Linked DNA regions of Homo sapiens: all the other regions are linked to region 1. Evidence: promoter capture Hi-C in 16 types of primary human blood cells and fetal thymus (Javierre and others, 2016). All regions are on one chromosome and are shown on one strand. The core of a region is centred on a gene start or on the middle of the fragment in contact, and the rest is flanking DNA. Distances in the headings are between cores, read along the strand shown. Region 1 holds the start of SMARCA2 (SWI/SNF related BAF chromatin remodeling complex subunit ATPase 2). Region 2 has its middle 6.1 kb from the start of PUM3. Region 3 overlaps PUM3 (pumilio RNA binding family member 3). Region 4 has its middle 46 kb from the start of KCNV2. Region 5 overlaps KCNV2 (potassium voltage-gated channel modifier subfamily V member 2).

Region 1 (2,735 bases), core at 95-2,594:
CTACTGCATAGGAACAGTTTTAAGAGTCAAGCATCTACATTAATCTGAGTCTAAAATAATAGGCCCCTGATTTAAAGTCTCCTAACATTCTTTCACACTTCATAAAACTAAAAATAAAATTGTCTCACCAAACACCGACCTATTGGTCCGGCCAAAGTACTGTATTTCAAGGAAAATTGGAGCAAAGAGGTCTCAAAACCGCGACTTGCCAGCAAATTACAATTTGCAGCCTTAATTGGTCTCAAATGCGGGGTGAGAGGGAAGAGACTACGGTCTGTAGAAAATAAGAGATTTATTCCCCTTTTTAAATCAAAACCAGATTCCATGCTTCAGCCGCCCCCTAACCCGCCAGCCCCGCCCCCAGGGTTTGTTTTTCCATATTTTTGTATATATTTTAGCGAAGATGGCAGGTGAGGGAAGGTTATAGTGCTGTACCTAGTCCACGAAGTAAACAGAGAGGTTAGGGTGGGTTTACTTATTTATAAGGCGTTCAGCCTCTCAGCTGTTTCTCCCTCGTTGGCATTTGGAAGCTTGCAGTCCTTCAGGGAAGAGACAGATTTGGCAGGAACGTTCTTTGTGCCCGCCTCCCTTTTCTATTTTTTATTTTTTTACCTGGAATAGGGGGCAGATTTATAATGACAGCCTTAGGGAAGGGGGAGAAAAAGTTTCAGCCGGCACGACAATGCCCGTTTTTTCCACAGTCCACACTGTGCCACAAACAGCTTTGGTGCCACTCGGAGCCCGTCCCCCGTCCCCTCCCTCTCTCTCTGCAGGCTCGCACTGGCAGGCGGAGGCACAGTTAAATTCCAGCACCTTCTCCACATACCCCCGAACTACTACGCGCTATTACTACGGCTGCCCTCCGTTTTCGCTTCGCCTCCTCCCCTTCCGCAGTCTCCCTGGAGGAGCCCCGCGGCGCCCGAGGAAGAGGACTGCCAGGGAAGGGACAGCGGGCGCCCAGCTCCAGCAGGGCTTGGGGCTTTCTGCATCCCGCGCAGTTTCTCTGCTCCAGGCACAAACGCGGCCCGAGAGCCGGCGCCTTGCAGTCACACACGGATCCACGCATACAGTAGAGCTGTCTAGATCCACATTCTTGCACACCGCCCCCTCCTCCCCCCGCGCTCCCGGAGTCGCTGAGCTGAGCGAGTGACAGGCGCGTCCCGCCAACCCGCGCCCGGACGGGCAGGGAGGAGCGGCGCGCGGGGCCAACTGCGGCGCGTCTTCCGGCGCCCGCGGAGGAGGCGAGGGTGGGACGCTGGGCGGAGCCCGAGTTTAGGAAGAGGAGGGGACGGCTGTCATCAATGAAGTCATATTCATAATCTAGTCCTCTCTCCCTCTGTTTCTGTACTCTGGGTGACTCAGAGAGGGAAGAGATTCAGCCAGCACACTCCTCGCGAGCAAGGTAAATATAACTTACAACTCTTTTCTCCTCTTTCCCCTCCCTTCGGCCGCCCCGCTGCAGCCGCCGCTCAGACCCCTCCGGCACCACGCCGCCTTCGCCCGGGATTATCCATTATTATCCTAATTATTATTTATTGTGCATGCAAGGAGACCAAAACAAACAGGCGGGCCAACCGCCGCGACAAAAAAAAGCCCGCCTCCTCCCCGCGGGCCTCAGGTGGAATGCTCTAACGACAGCTCCCAGGCGGCGGTGGAAGAAACGAGAAAGTTTCAACCGAACCTTGCTGTTCTAATAATAACAGTAATAATTACTACTTCAAGGGGGCAAAGGAGGAAAAAAATCCCAACAAGCCACAGCCTTGATCCTGAGTGGGCAGTCAGAGGCGCTGCCAACTCAAGGTTGCAACACACACATTGGGCCAGGTTGCAATCCCCCCATCCCCTTAAAAGTGAGGCGGCGGGGAGGGGGGTGGCCGCAGGAGGGGGAAGGCCTGGGGGACAGGGGAGGAGGATGGAAACGCTACTGTTCATCCCGGGCAACCCTCCCCGGAAGAGTTGGAAGGGGAACGGGAAAGGAGGGCGGGGAGCCCAGGCTGGCGGCGGGGCGCCAACGGACGCTGTTGCCACCCGCTTCCCAGGGACTTGTTCAAAGGGCTCCGGCTGCGGAGACGTGAGCGGATCGCAGCGGGAGAAGCCTGAGCTGACGCGCGAAGGAGGTAGCGGCCACTGCCGCGGGGCCGGTGCGTGCCTGATCGGAGGTGTCACCTCCACTTTCCGCGTTTCCTCCGGCGTGGATGGGGAGGCTGATTGGTAGGCAGGCCTTTAGGCAAAGGGGCTGCCAGGGGGCTGCGCCCCGGGCGCTGCGGACGTCCCTGCCTCTGGTACCTGGCGGCAGCGCAGGCTCGGGTGTTAAAGTTCGGGATGTCCGGCCCGGGCCGCACTGCTGGAGGGAAGGGAGGAGGCCCCCAAGGAGGTCGGAGGTGCCCGCCAGCCTCCGTTACCCTGCCCTCCCTCTCCCCGGGTCCGTGTTCTTTTGCTTCGCGTCTTCCCCTTGCTTGCGCCGCGGGAGCTGCGGGCGTGGGGCGCCTGCGATCGTCCGGGTGCTAGGGGCGCGCCGGGACCCAGGAGAGCCACGGCGGCGGCTGCGGGCCCGGGAGGCCATGATCCGGATAATCCTGTCTGCCTGACTGTCACAAACAGGACCCGCGCACCACCGGGCAGCGGCGGTGTGGTTCGCCCGGGAAGGGGAAGGGCTGCGGTGGGGAGGGAATAGGGGGGTGGCGAGGGCGGGAGGCGGGGAGACCGGGTAGGAGCCTCCTCCCAACGATGACACG
Region 2 (2,735 bases), core at 163-2,662, 830 kb after region 1:
CTAATTTGTGAGCAATAAAGATAACCAAGCATATATTTTATTAGGTGAACAAATAAGAAAATTGTTTGTTTCAAATATGAATAAAGAATAATTTTCTTGCAAATCAAAACCACAATGAGATACCATGTCACACCAGTTAGAATGGCGATCATTAAAAAGTCAGGAAACGACAGGTGCTGGTGAGGATGTGGAGAAACAGGAACACTTTTACACTGCTGGTGGGACCGTAAACTAGTTCAACCATTGTGGAAGACAGTGTGGCAATTCCTCAAGGACCTAGAACTAGAAATATTTGACCCACCCATCCCATTACTGGACATATACCCAAAGGATTATAAATCATGCTGCTGTAAAGACACATGCACACGTGTGTTTATTGCGGCACTATTTACAATAGCAAAGACTTGGAACCAACCCAAATGTCCATCAGTGATAGACTGGATTAAGCAAATGTGGCACATATACACCACGGAATACTATGCAGCCATAAAAAAGGATGAGTTCATGTCCTTGGTAGGGACATGGATGAAGCTGGAAACCATCATTCTCAGCAAACTATCTCAAGGACGAAAAACCAAACACCACATGTTCTCACTCATAGATGGGAATTGAACAATGAGAACACTTGGACACAGGGTGGGGAGCATCACACACTGGGGCCTGTCATGGGCTGGGGGGAGGGGGGAGGTATATCATTAGGAGATACACCTAATGTAAATGATGAGTTAACGGGTGCAGCACACCAACATGGCACATGTATGCATATGTAACCTGCACGTTGTGCACATGTACCCTAGAACTTAAAGTATAATAAAAAAATTAAAAATAGAAAAAAAAGAATTTTCTAATTATTCCTCCCACTTTTTAAAACTATAGAAATTTCATGTTGGTACTTAGAATAATGATCTAGCTCTACTTACCTACCCAATATTCCTCTCTTCCTTTATTTTTTTTTCTTTTTTGGAGAGACAGGTTTTGCTATGTTGCCCAGACTGGTCTTGAACTCTTGACCTCAAGTGATCCTCCCACCTCGGTCTTCCAAAGTGCTGGGATTAATGGGCATGAGCAGCTGTGCCCAGCCTACCTCTTCCTTTTAAGATGAAGAAATAAATTAACCCACTTGCTCAAACCTATTATGTCAATTTAAATTCTCCAGGAAGCAGATGTCAAGATAGAATTAGGCCAAGAGACATGTTGTGAGAAAAACTTCACAATAAGCTGAGGGGAGAGGAAATAGCAGTAAATAGGGAGCACCCGATACCATGATACAGCTCTGACGTGTGTCGAGAGAGAGGCGGAAGGAGGATGTGGTAGAAAGTCTTCAGGCTGTAGTAAAGCTCTGAGAAAGCCTCGGCGAGGCCAGCATGGCACTGCAGAGCAAAGATTTCTCCTTAAAGGAAAGCTAAATTGAGTAGGAAAGGCCCAGCTCAAGTACCCCTGCTGTGCTCAGTCATTGGCTGGGAGCAACCCAGGGAGTGCATGGCCTCAGCATGAATGCTGCAGTGGATGCTGAAGTTGTGGCAGCTGGAGGCATAAGCTAACTACACCTCTCGCAGCCGGTTCTCTCTTGAAAGGAGATTGGAGCAGTTCACTCCATGGCTGCCAGAGTCTACCCCTCACACAGCACAGGGCTATTTCTCCATGTGTGTTTGGGGAGTGGCTCCTCCATTGTTCCTATGGCCCTCTGCTCAGGAGGGGAATGTTAGAAGAGAGAGACCAGGGGGACAAAGTATAGTCTCCTGGGGGCTGCAGCAAGTACTCATCATCTCACTCCAGCACTATCCATTCTAAATTCACCTCATCCTTGGCTATTAGCTTGGCAGGTCTTGATGACTAACCTGGTCATGTGACTTAAACCATTGGTTTTACAGGGTCTGAGACTCTAGTAATCATAACCTCTAAGCCAAGGGTTGCTTCCTATGTTCATTTACCATTACAGTGGGGGCTAAGGAGAACTGAGAAATACCTAAGTGGATCGCCTAGGTTCTATATGTATTCCTCCATGTCTCAGTTGACCAAAAGCAGTCCTATCTCCTCTAGTTATCGGAGTTAATCACACTTGCCCAGATGGAGACGCCCCTTCTTACCTGTTAATCTTGTACACAAGGAGTCCAAAATGTCCAGGAGACACCCGTAGTTCAATGAAACTCTTGCTCTGTCCCCTGGCAAGAGTGTGCCTCCTTTGAAGACAAGGACTTCTAAACCTGCAGAGCCCAGAGTTAAGGCGACAGGAAACATGCATTTCCCCAGAGGGCCATTGAGAATAATGGTAAGAATGATGATTCCTGCTTCTTTCCCCTGGTTCCTTGACCCATGTATTCTTATTAGGAGCATAGCACTCTATGGAGATCTCTGATTTATTTATTCTGCATTCTGGAGGATAGCACCTCCTTTTTGTAGACTATTGCCTGTAAACTGGTACTCCAGCTGTGCCTTCGATAGGCCACTGCAATGTTCTATTGTGGGTTGGTTGCCTCTTGATGGAGCATCTGTGATGTCATCTGGGAATCACATGACCATGGGCTCACTTCTGCACCCACTTTGCTGTGAGTTGTGGCCCCTGTTTGGATGCTATGTTACATAGGTTTACATGCTTGTGGATCATGCACTGCATAAACGTCTGGATATTGATGCTGGCTGAGGCTCTGTGGGTGGGAAAGGCAAACTCATATTTGGAATAAGACTATCCCACTGAGGGGAAACTGTTGGCCCTTCCAGAATAAAAGGAGCCCAAA
Region 3 (2,735 bases), core at 64-2,563, 800 kb after region 1:
GGAAGAGAGTTAATAAAAAGTTAAAACTAAGAGATTTAACTAATGGATAACAGAAATATAGAGGGCAGGTTAGATCATCAGGCAGCTTCCCAAGTATTTTGTTCTGAAAACAGGGTGACTGTTTCCAAAAGTCTACCTTTTCAGCTGCACTAAAAAAACTGGAAGGTCTAGTTTAGTGGGTACGCTGCTTCATTCAGTTTTGCAAAATAAAAAAAGTCCTGGAGATTGCCTAACAATGAGCATATTTAATACTACTTAACTGTATCCTTCAAAATGGTTAACATGCTAAATTTTGTTATATGTAGTTTACCTCAATTAAAAAGAAAACAAATGTGAAGATCTATCGCCATGGAGCTCACACTGCCAGGGACTGGAGCTGAATGGTGCCCACCACCTTGCAGAGGGTGTGTGCTCTCGCCATTTCCTACAGTCCCTCCCACATCTCCTTGTCTCACACCTGGCCTGGCCACTCATTTACCTATCTGGTCAATGAAGGTTTGCAGGTTTGTGAGCCCTGGGTGAGATCATGATTAACTGCTCAAGGAAAGGATGGCAAAGAAAAAGACTATAGTAGTTGAGTGGGTGGGGAGACCACATCTGACTAGAAGATCACTATCTGCTGATTACACTAGAGCTTAGTCTTAACAGAAAACAAGCAGTGATTATCGGGCTATGATTTCAACTTGACATTTTGGGAAATCTAGTTACTCTAAATGGAATGCTTAGCAACACACTAAGCTTTCTTGGCTATTTTTAAAAGCACTGCGTAATGCAATGGTTTCGTAGTGGCTGAGTGGGAAATAGGAACACGTGACTCTCTATATAAACATACATGCAGCAAATTTGGCAGCCCAGCAATTCTGCTAAGTGCCTTAGAGAAACTTAACATGTACCCAAGGAAATATACACAAGAATGTTCAAGGATTTGGATTAGCAAAAATTAAGAATTAAAGTTAGTTTTTAAAATTGTAAACAACCTAAACATCCATCACCAGGAAAACAGAAAATAAATCGCAGTATAGTCACATGTAATAGAATACTATTTGGCAGTGAAAAATAAATGATTTAGAATAGGGATGGGTAAACTATGGCCCATTGGTCAAATTCAGCCTATAGCCTGTTTTTGTCCATCTTGCAAGCTAATAATGGTTTTTACATTTCAAAAGGGTTTTAAAAAACAAAAACAAAATGCACAAGAATACATGATAGGACCATATATACCCCACAAAGGCTAAAATAATTATTAACTGGCCCTTTATAAAAAGGCTTGCTGACCCCTGACAATAAATCTCACAAACATGAGAAAAGAAAAAAAGCAAGATGCAGAAAAATACATGTAAGACATCATTTATACAGAACTTGCAAACATGTAAAATAAAATTAGATACATGTTTTACAAAATAAAAAATGTCCACATATAGTGAAAGGATAAGGAAATGCAGATGAATAATAAATACCAAATTTATCATAGTAGATATGGGGCGATGATAGGATATCAGGGATGGGTACACAAAGGGCTTAAACTTGAACTGTATTTGTCAAGTTTTATTTCATGTCAGGTGGTGGGAGGCTGGATGTTCACTGTATTATTCATACCTTTCTGTATATTTTAAAGACAATGGCTTTAAAAATATGCATCAATATTTATTCACCCTCAAACAGCAATTGGCTAGTATACTTATTTACTTTCCAGCGACCATTGCTGTCAAACCGTCTGCATATCAATTGACTGCAAAGGTAAACTGGATGAAACTTTATGTTTATTTAGGAAAGTAGTAAGAAAGAGCTCGTATCCATTTTGAAAGGCGAAGAGCTCAGCTGACCAGGCTGTGATTTCAACCTGACATTTTGGGAAGTCTGGTGCCCTGAACAGAGTGCTTAGCAACACTAAGCTTTCCTGGTTATTTTTAAAAAGCACTGCATACTGCAACTGTTTTTGTGGTGGATGAGTGATGGGAAAAATCCAAGGGCAATTAGCATTCCAGAATTTTATCACGAGCTACACAGTTTAATAATACACAGAACCTGTTGAACGTTTGTCAGTTACAGGAAAGAGATCGGCAAATCAGGCCATTCAGGGAAAGCTGCCCTAAGTATGAGAAAGTCGTTAAGAATGTGGGTTAAGCAGTTGTGGGAATCAAAGTGATAAGCATAAGGAATTAAAACTTTTTCAACAGCAACTTTAAGTGGCATACATCTTTGGAAAAAAATTAACAGACAATTCTGGCAAATCATGAAGGAAATTTGGTTTCTCTTGAAATCCATTTGGAACAGCTATGCACATTTTAGTTGTCGTGAAAATATTAAACAAAAGCAAACTTTCAATATCCCAGCCTGTTTCCATTTCTGTGAAACAACTTTATTCATCAGCCAATTCTATGGCCTCACATCTCTGTCACAAGAATGAAAAACAATCATTATTGATTGGAGTCAAAAGGGTAATAAAGTCACAAGGAACATGTCAAAATACTCAGTTTGTAACATGAAAGTCTTGCCAACTTGTTTCTTCCCACAATCCTATCCCAAAGAAAGTCATCACAATCTTAAAACAGTCAAGGGTAAAGTTGGAAAATGACAGCAAGGGCATGAGAAATTCACACACACTGGGACCTACGGCTGGCATCTAAGAAAACAATCTTCCCCTCCACTAGCTGGTATACTTTTTCTACTACACTCAGCTCTACTGATCCCAGGAGGCTACAAAGAGAGACCACAACACCACCACCTGACAACAG
Region 4 (2,735 bases), core at 110-2,609, 750 kb after region 1:
TGTCTAGAGGAATCCTCACAGACAGCAGCTTTCAGGGAGAATAGAAGTGTGTGTGCGTGTGTGTGTGTGTGTGTGTTTTCCGGACTTTTAAAAGTGTCCAACTCTCAGTTAATCTTTCTAAATCCAGACAAGGGAAGGCTTCATTAATGAAGGTCTCTCCAGATGCAAATTTTCCTCACTAAAGACAGCTTTGCAGGGACACTTCTGTTTGCTGACCCTCTGACAGCCATCTCAAAATAGGACAAATAAATATATTTAGGAGTGAAATATTTTTATTTCCTTCAAAATCTATGTTCTGCTTTAGGCAAATAGAGGCAGGGCTGAGAACTTCCCTGCATCTACTTCTTAATTGTCTTCAGCTCAACAATTCTTTCTATTTTGGGGAGGCACATGCTGGTCTCCCACATTATCATCCTCTGTATGGCAAAAAACCTAGTCTTAAATAATCATGTACTTCTCCACTGGCACAAGATATTTTCTGAGTCCTCTAGACCTGGCTTTAACCACTCCTACCCTCATTTTTATAAGGAAAAGTAAAGAGAAAATAAAAAGGCTAGTAAAATGGAAATCTGCATACCCTCCACCTAGATTCTCCACCTGTCAACATTTTATATTTTACTTTAGCATTCTCTTTCTCTCTGCACACAAATACTTTCCCTCTCTCTCTCTTTAAAAAATAAATGGGTAGTTTTAGTGTAATCACTCAACAACGTCTCCCTGCCCATTGCACAGACAAAATCAATTCACTGAGACTGCAGCACAGCAGTAAGGAAAGAGTTTAACTGACACAAGGCTAGCCATGTGGGAGATGAAGTAATTACTAAAATCAGTCTCCCCATAAGTTTGGAGGTTAGGGTTTTACAAGGACAGTTTGGTGGGCAGGGGGCTAGGGAATGGGGGATGTTCATTGATTGGGGATGAAATCACAGGGGTCTGGAAAACAGTTCTCATGCTCTCAGCCCACCTGTGGGGGCCACAGGACTGGTTGAGTCATGAATTGAGGGTCTGTGTGGAGTCAGAAATGCAAAAGTCTAAAAAACATCTCAAAAAGCTAATGTTAGGTTTCACAATAGTGATGTTATCTAGGGGAATCATTGGGGAAATTGCAAGTCTTGTTACCTCCAGAACAAGGGCTGGTAATCATTTAACTACGCCTACATCTCAGCAGAATTCAGGCCCCTCTCATAATCACAACCTTGCGAACTTAGTTTTATAGAGGTGGTTTAGTTTGGGGAAGGGCTATTATCATCCTTGCTTTAAAGTTAAACCATAAACCTAATTCCTGCCAAACCTAGCTTGGCTTATGCCCAGGAATGACCAAGGACAACTTGGAGGTTAGAATCAAGATGGAGTAACTATGTCAGATTTCTCTTACTGTCAAAATTTTGCAAAGGCGTTTTCACTTCTGGCACCCAAATCTGCAAATGAGGGGAGTTGGGCTGACTAGCATATCTCTAAGGACCCTGGGATTCAAAATTATATGTGGATGGGTGCTTTCTGTGTATATGCCCTTATTGTTCCTTAAAAAAAATAATGGTGTTGCAAACTCACATCTCACCATACATTCCCGGGAAAATCAGCCAAATCCAGAATAAATGTGCATGATCCTTGCCAGCTGAAAAAGGATTAAAAAGAGAGAAAACACCTGGCACAGGCCCTTGAAATACTTTTGCTCAAGTCTATTAAACAAGGCACAAATAACACTTGAGATTGCGATAATCTAATAATCTTTTTGTGAACACTATAGCTAAAGATAGATATGAGCAGGGGCTTCATCAAGAAAGGAGGGCAAGGCTGGGCGTGGTGACTCATGCCTGTAATTCTAGCATTTTGGGAGGCTGAGATGGGTGGATCACCTGAGGTCAGGGGTTTGAGGCCAGCCTCGCCAACATGGTGAAACCCTGACTCTATAAAAATGCAAAAATTAGCCAGGCATGGTGGCAGGTGCCTGTTATCCCACCTACTTGGAAGCCTGAGGGAGGTGAATCACTTGAACCCAGGAGGTGGAGGTTGCAGTGGGCACTATTGCACTCTAGCCTGAGTGACAGAGTGAGACTCCATCTCAAAAAAAAAAAAAAAAAAAAAAAAGAGAAACAAAAGAAAGGAGGACAATGCACTCATATTCTCAGACCGCTTCATTATAGAGTTCTTATTACCAGCATAACATTGCCTGCCACTGACTCAGAGTCACACGTCTCTGCTCCACAAAGAAAGAAGCTGTCCTTGCCGTGGGTGACAGCCATTGAGAACTACAGACTTCTCTCCTGCTTGAGAGAAATGCGGCACAGGAAACAGCAAGAATAATTCTGATCAGTGGTTGTCAGGCAGTTTTGTAACTTACAAAGTATTTTCCCTTGTAGAGTTTGGTTCATCTAAGATCATGGAAACAGGAAGTGGCAAACTCCACAGTAGCCACAGACAGGAGCTATGACCAGGGCCTCATATGATGCTCACAGCAGTAAGGCTTGGCTCTATATACCAACACAGGTATATAATAAAAGGAAATTAAAATATTTTATCCTAGGCCAGGCGTGGTGGCTCATGCCTGTAATCCTAGCACTTTGGGAGGGCAAGCTGGGCAGATCACTTGAGGTCAGGGGTTCAACACAAGCCTGGCCAATATGGTAAAACCCCATCTCTACCAACAATACAAAAATTAGCTGGGCATGACGGTGCATGCCTGTAATCCCAGCTACTAGGGAGGCTGAAGCACGAGAATCACTTGAACCCGGGAG
Region 5 (2,735 bases), core at 158-2,657, 710 kb after region 1:
GCTTATCTACACCACATTACCTCTCTTGGATGCCTGCTTGTATTTTGACTCTGCAGAAAAAGGCTGCATGACCTCTCACAAGAGACAGGGCAGTGAGTGACAGGAGGTGCATCATCAGCCTCAAAAAGGAGGCATACCCTTCCTTTTTTCGTGGGCTGGATGGAGCTGTGGTTCTCATCAGTGCCCTCAGTTTTGTGCAGCTGGCTCACTTCTCCATTTCATTCTAATCAGTCAACTGCACTATTCCAGGTTCAAACTAACCCTTACATCATCAAAACAAAAATATTTACACTGCTAAGCTAACGGCCACCTCAGCACGGATCAACAAGATGACCATATGCTTTACTGCCGTCTGCTGGAAAATTATGGCAACAACTACCCAAATACACAAAGCAAAGAGTGCCCCCCTGGAGTAGTGCAACGCAAAAATGTTTACAACTGTGACCAACAGCTCTGCTTAAAAGGCTTCTAGTAATTTAGCCAATACTCTGGGGATCAGAGGGAGTACATGAGGCATAAAAAACAGTCCCCAAGGAATTTTCACAGGGTTTTCTCTGGTAACTGATAACTAGTCCCATGGTATCTGCATTTTAAAACAGAAGCTTGTTAACCTAAATAAGTCTCCAATTAGTGGGATTTAAATCAGTATGACAAGAGTAATGGGAAGTATTTCATGCAGGGGTGAACATATTTTTGGTGAGTGATGTCTTACAAAAGTCCCTTTACAAAATAATGAGAGTGTTTCTCCAGACATCTGCAATTAAAGCACCTTCACATAAAGTCTCTCATTTGAACTACGTAACAACTTTGAAAAGTGTTATAACTGTCTTCATTTTAAAGATGAGAGGAAGACAATGGAGGAGTTTCATGCCTTTTGTATGCCTGGTACTGTGTTCAGTGCTTTATATTCATTTTCTTATTTAGCCTTCACAAGAATCCTAAGAGTTAGATGGTTTTCTCCTGTTTTAAATAAAAAAAAAAAAAAAGAAAAAAAGAAAAAGAGAGAGAGAGAGTCTGAAGGTTTTGCCCCAGGTCACTCAACTGGAAAGGTTCAGAGTCAGGACTTGAACCCAGGTCTGACTGTTCTAAGCCCAAGATTTTTCCAATACATACAGTGTACAGGCAAACCCAGGGACCTGCTTTCCTGAATCTGGTGCCAGCTGAGTTAGGGAGGCAAAGATCATTTACTGAGCACGTTCTACATCAGGTACTTAACATACTATTTTAAATGCTCTTTACAGCAACCATTTCAAGTAGGTATTACCTCCTCCTCCCATATCTTACATTCAAACATGCATGAGTCGTAGTCAGGATTTCAGCCAAAGTCTTTCAGCTCCATCCATAGCTTCTGTTCTTTTCATGACACAGGTCCTAGAGGGAGTCTTCCTGGTACCTCCTAAAGCAGGCTCCGTGGGAAGCCATTACACTTCCCATGTGTACCCACAGGGAGGACGCTTCCCTGCTTGCTCCTCTCCCTTTCTTCTCCTCCCCGATCTTAGTGCTAACAATTCCATCCTGCTTTCCTTCCTCTACAGGTGAGCATCTCCACCGTGGGCTACGGAGACATGTACCCAGAGACCCACCTGGGCAGGTTTTTTGCCTTCCTCTGCATTGCTTTTGGGATCATTCTCAACGGGATGCCCATTTCCATCCTCTACAACAAGTTTTCTGATTACTACAGCAAGCTGAAGGCTTATGAGTATACCACCATACGCAGGGAGAGGGGAGAGGTGAACTTCATGCAGAGAGCCAGAAAGAAGATAGCTGAGTGTTTGCTTGGAAGCAACCCACAGCTCACCCCAAGACAAGAGAATTAGTATTTTATAGGACATGTGGCTGGTAGATTCCATGAACTTCAAGGCTTCATTGCTCTTTTTTTAATCATTATGATTGGCAGCAAAAGGAAATGTGAAGCAGACATACACAAAGGCCATTTCGTTCACAAAGTACTGCCTCTAGAAATACTCATTTTGGCCCAAACTCAGAATGTCTCATAGTTGCTCTGTGTTGTGTGAAACATCTGACCTTCTCAATGACGTTGATATTGAAAACCTGAGGGGAGCAACAGCTTAGATTTTTCTTGTAGCTTCTCGTGGCATCTAGCTCAATAAATATTTTTGGACTTGAGTTGACTTGAGAAAATTTTTTTTACTTTAAATTTTTCTAAAATTCTTAACTTTCCAGAGGGAGGGAGGGTTACAGCAGAAATTATACAAGCTTTGGAGTTAGACCAACCTTAGTCAGAATCCCAGAGCTACCAGCTGTATGCTTTTAGGCAAGCGACTCTAACCCTTTAAGCCTCAGTTTCTTCAACTGTGAAATGTAGGCAATACTTACCCTGCCAGGCTGAGCAATATAGTGAGACCCTGCCTCTACAAAAACTTATTAAGAATTATCTGGGTGTGCTGGCCCACACCTGTAGTCCCAGCTACTTGGAAGACTGAGGTGAGATCACTTGAGCCCAGGAGTTTGAGGTTAGAGTAAGCTATAACCACATTACTGCACTCCAATCTAGATGGCAGAGTAAGACCCTGCCTCAAATAAATAAATAAATAAATAAATAAATAAAACCACCTGCCTTGTAAAATGAGTCTGGGGATAACAGATATGTGTAAACGCTCAATAAATGATAGGTATTAAAATTGTTTAAGTGGATGTTATCTAGTGAAATCTCTAGACCAGTGGTTCTCAAAGGCAAATTCATTCCTCAGAGGCCAGCTAATGCCTAGAGATGG

Evidence for each region. Contacts are between HindIII fragments. The CHiCAGO score rates a contact against its expected background, and 5 or more counts as called.
Region 2: a fragment that was not itself captured here is called in contact with the fragment with the promoter of SMARCA2 in region 1 in 4 of 17 cell types (activated CD4 T cells, naive CD8 T cells, non-activated CD4 T cells and 1 more); the score reaches 7.1 in activated CD4 T cells.
Region 3: a fragment that was not itself captured here is called in contact with the fragment with the promoter of SMARCA2 in region 1 in 2 of 17 cell types (megakaryocytes and erythroblasts); the score reaches 7.2 in megakaryocytes.
Region 4: a fragment that was not itself captured here is called in contact with the fragment with the promoter of SMARCA2 in region 1 in 2 of 17 cell types (M1 macrophages and M0 macrophages); the score reaches 5.2 in M1 macrophages.
Region 5: a contact is called between a fragment that was not itself captured here and the fragment with the promoter of SMARCA2 in region 1, in 1 of 17 cell types (endothelial precursors). The highest score is 5.6, in endothelial precursors.

The regions. Positions count from the first base shown.
Region 1 is chr9:2,014,003-2,016,737 of GRCh38, forward strand. SMARCA2 (SWI/SNF related BAF chromatin remodeling complex subunit ATPase 2) reads left to right here and starts at 1,345. Exons shown (of 34, transcript NM_003070.5): 1 at 1,345-1,402. RefSeq lists enhancers at 845-894, 955-1,004, 1,791-2,347 and silencers at 1,055-1,394, 2,535-2,704. The HindIII fragment of the contact is 4,329 bases long and covers 529-2,735 here.
Region 2 is chr9:2,848,850-2,851,584 of GRCh38, forward strand. No RefSeq gene overlaps it. Among named protein-coding and RNA genes, the nearest start is that of PUM3, 6.1 kb to the left of the region's middle. The HindIII fragment of the contact is 3,362 bases long and covers 1-2,735 here.
Region 3 is chr9:2,816,213-2,818,947 of GRCh38, forward strand. The region is part of intron 13 of PUM3 (pumilio RNA binding family member 3); the gene reads right to left. Among named protein-coding and RNA genes, the nearest start is that of PUM3, 27 kb to the right of the region's middle. The HindIII fragment of the contact is 1,154 bases long and covers 737-1,890 here.
Region 4 is chr9:2,762,250-2,764,984 of GRCh38, forward strand. No RefSeq gene overlaps it. Among named protein-coding and RNA genes, the nearest start is that of KCNV2, 46 kb to the left of the region's middle. The HindIII fragment of the contact is 3,526 bases long and covers 1-2,735 here.
Region 5 is chr9:2,727,911-2,730,645 of GRCh38, forward strand. KCNV2 (potassium voltage-gated channel modifier subfamily V member 2) reads left to right here. Exons shown (of 2, transcript NM_133497.4): 2 at 1,536-2,127. The coding sequence ends at 1,817. Among named protein-coding and RNA genes, the nearest start is that of KCNV2, 12 kb to the left of the region's middle. The HindIII fragment of the contact is 1,615 bases long and covers 601-2,215 here.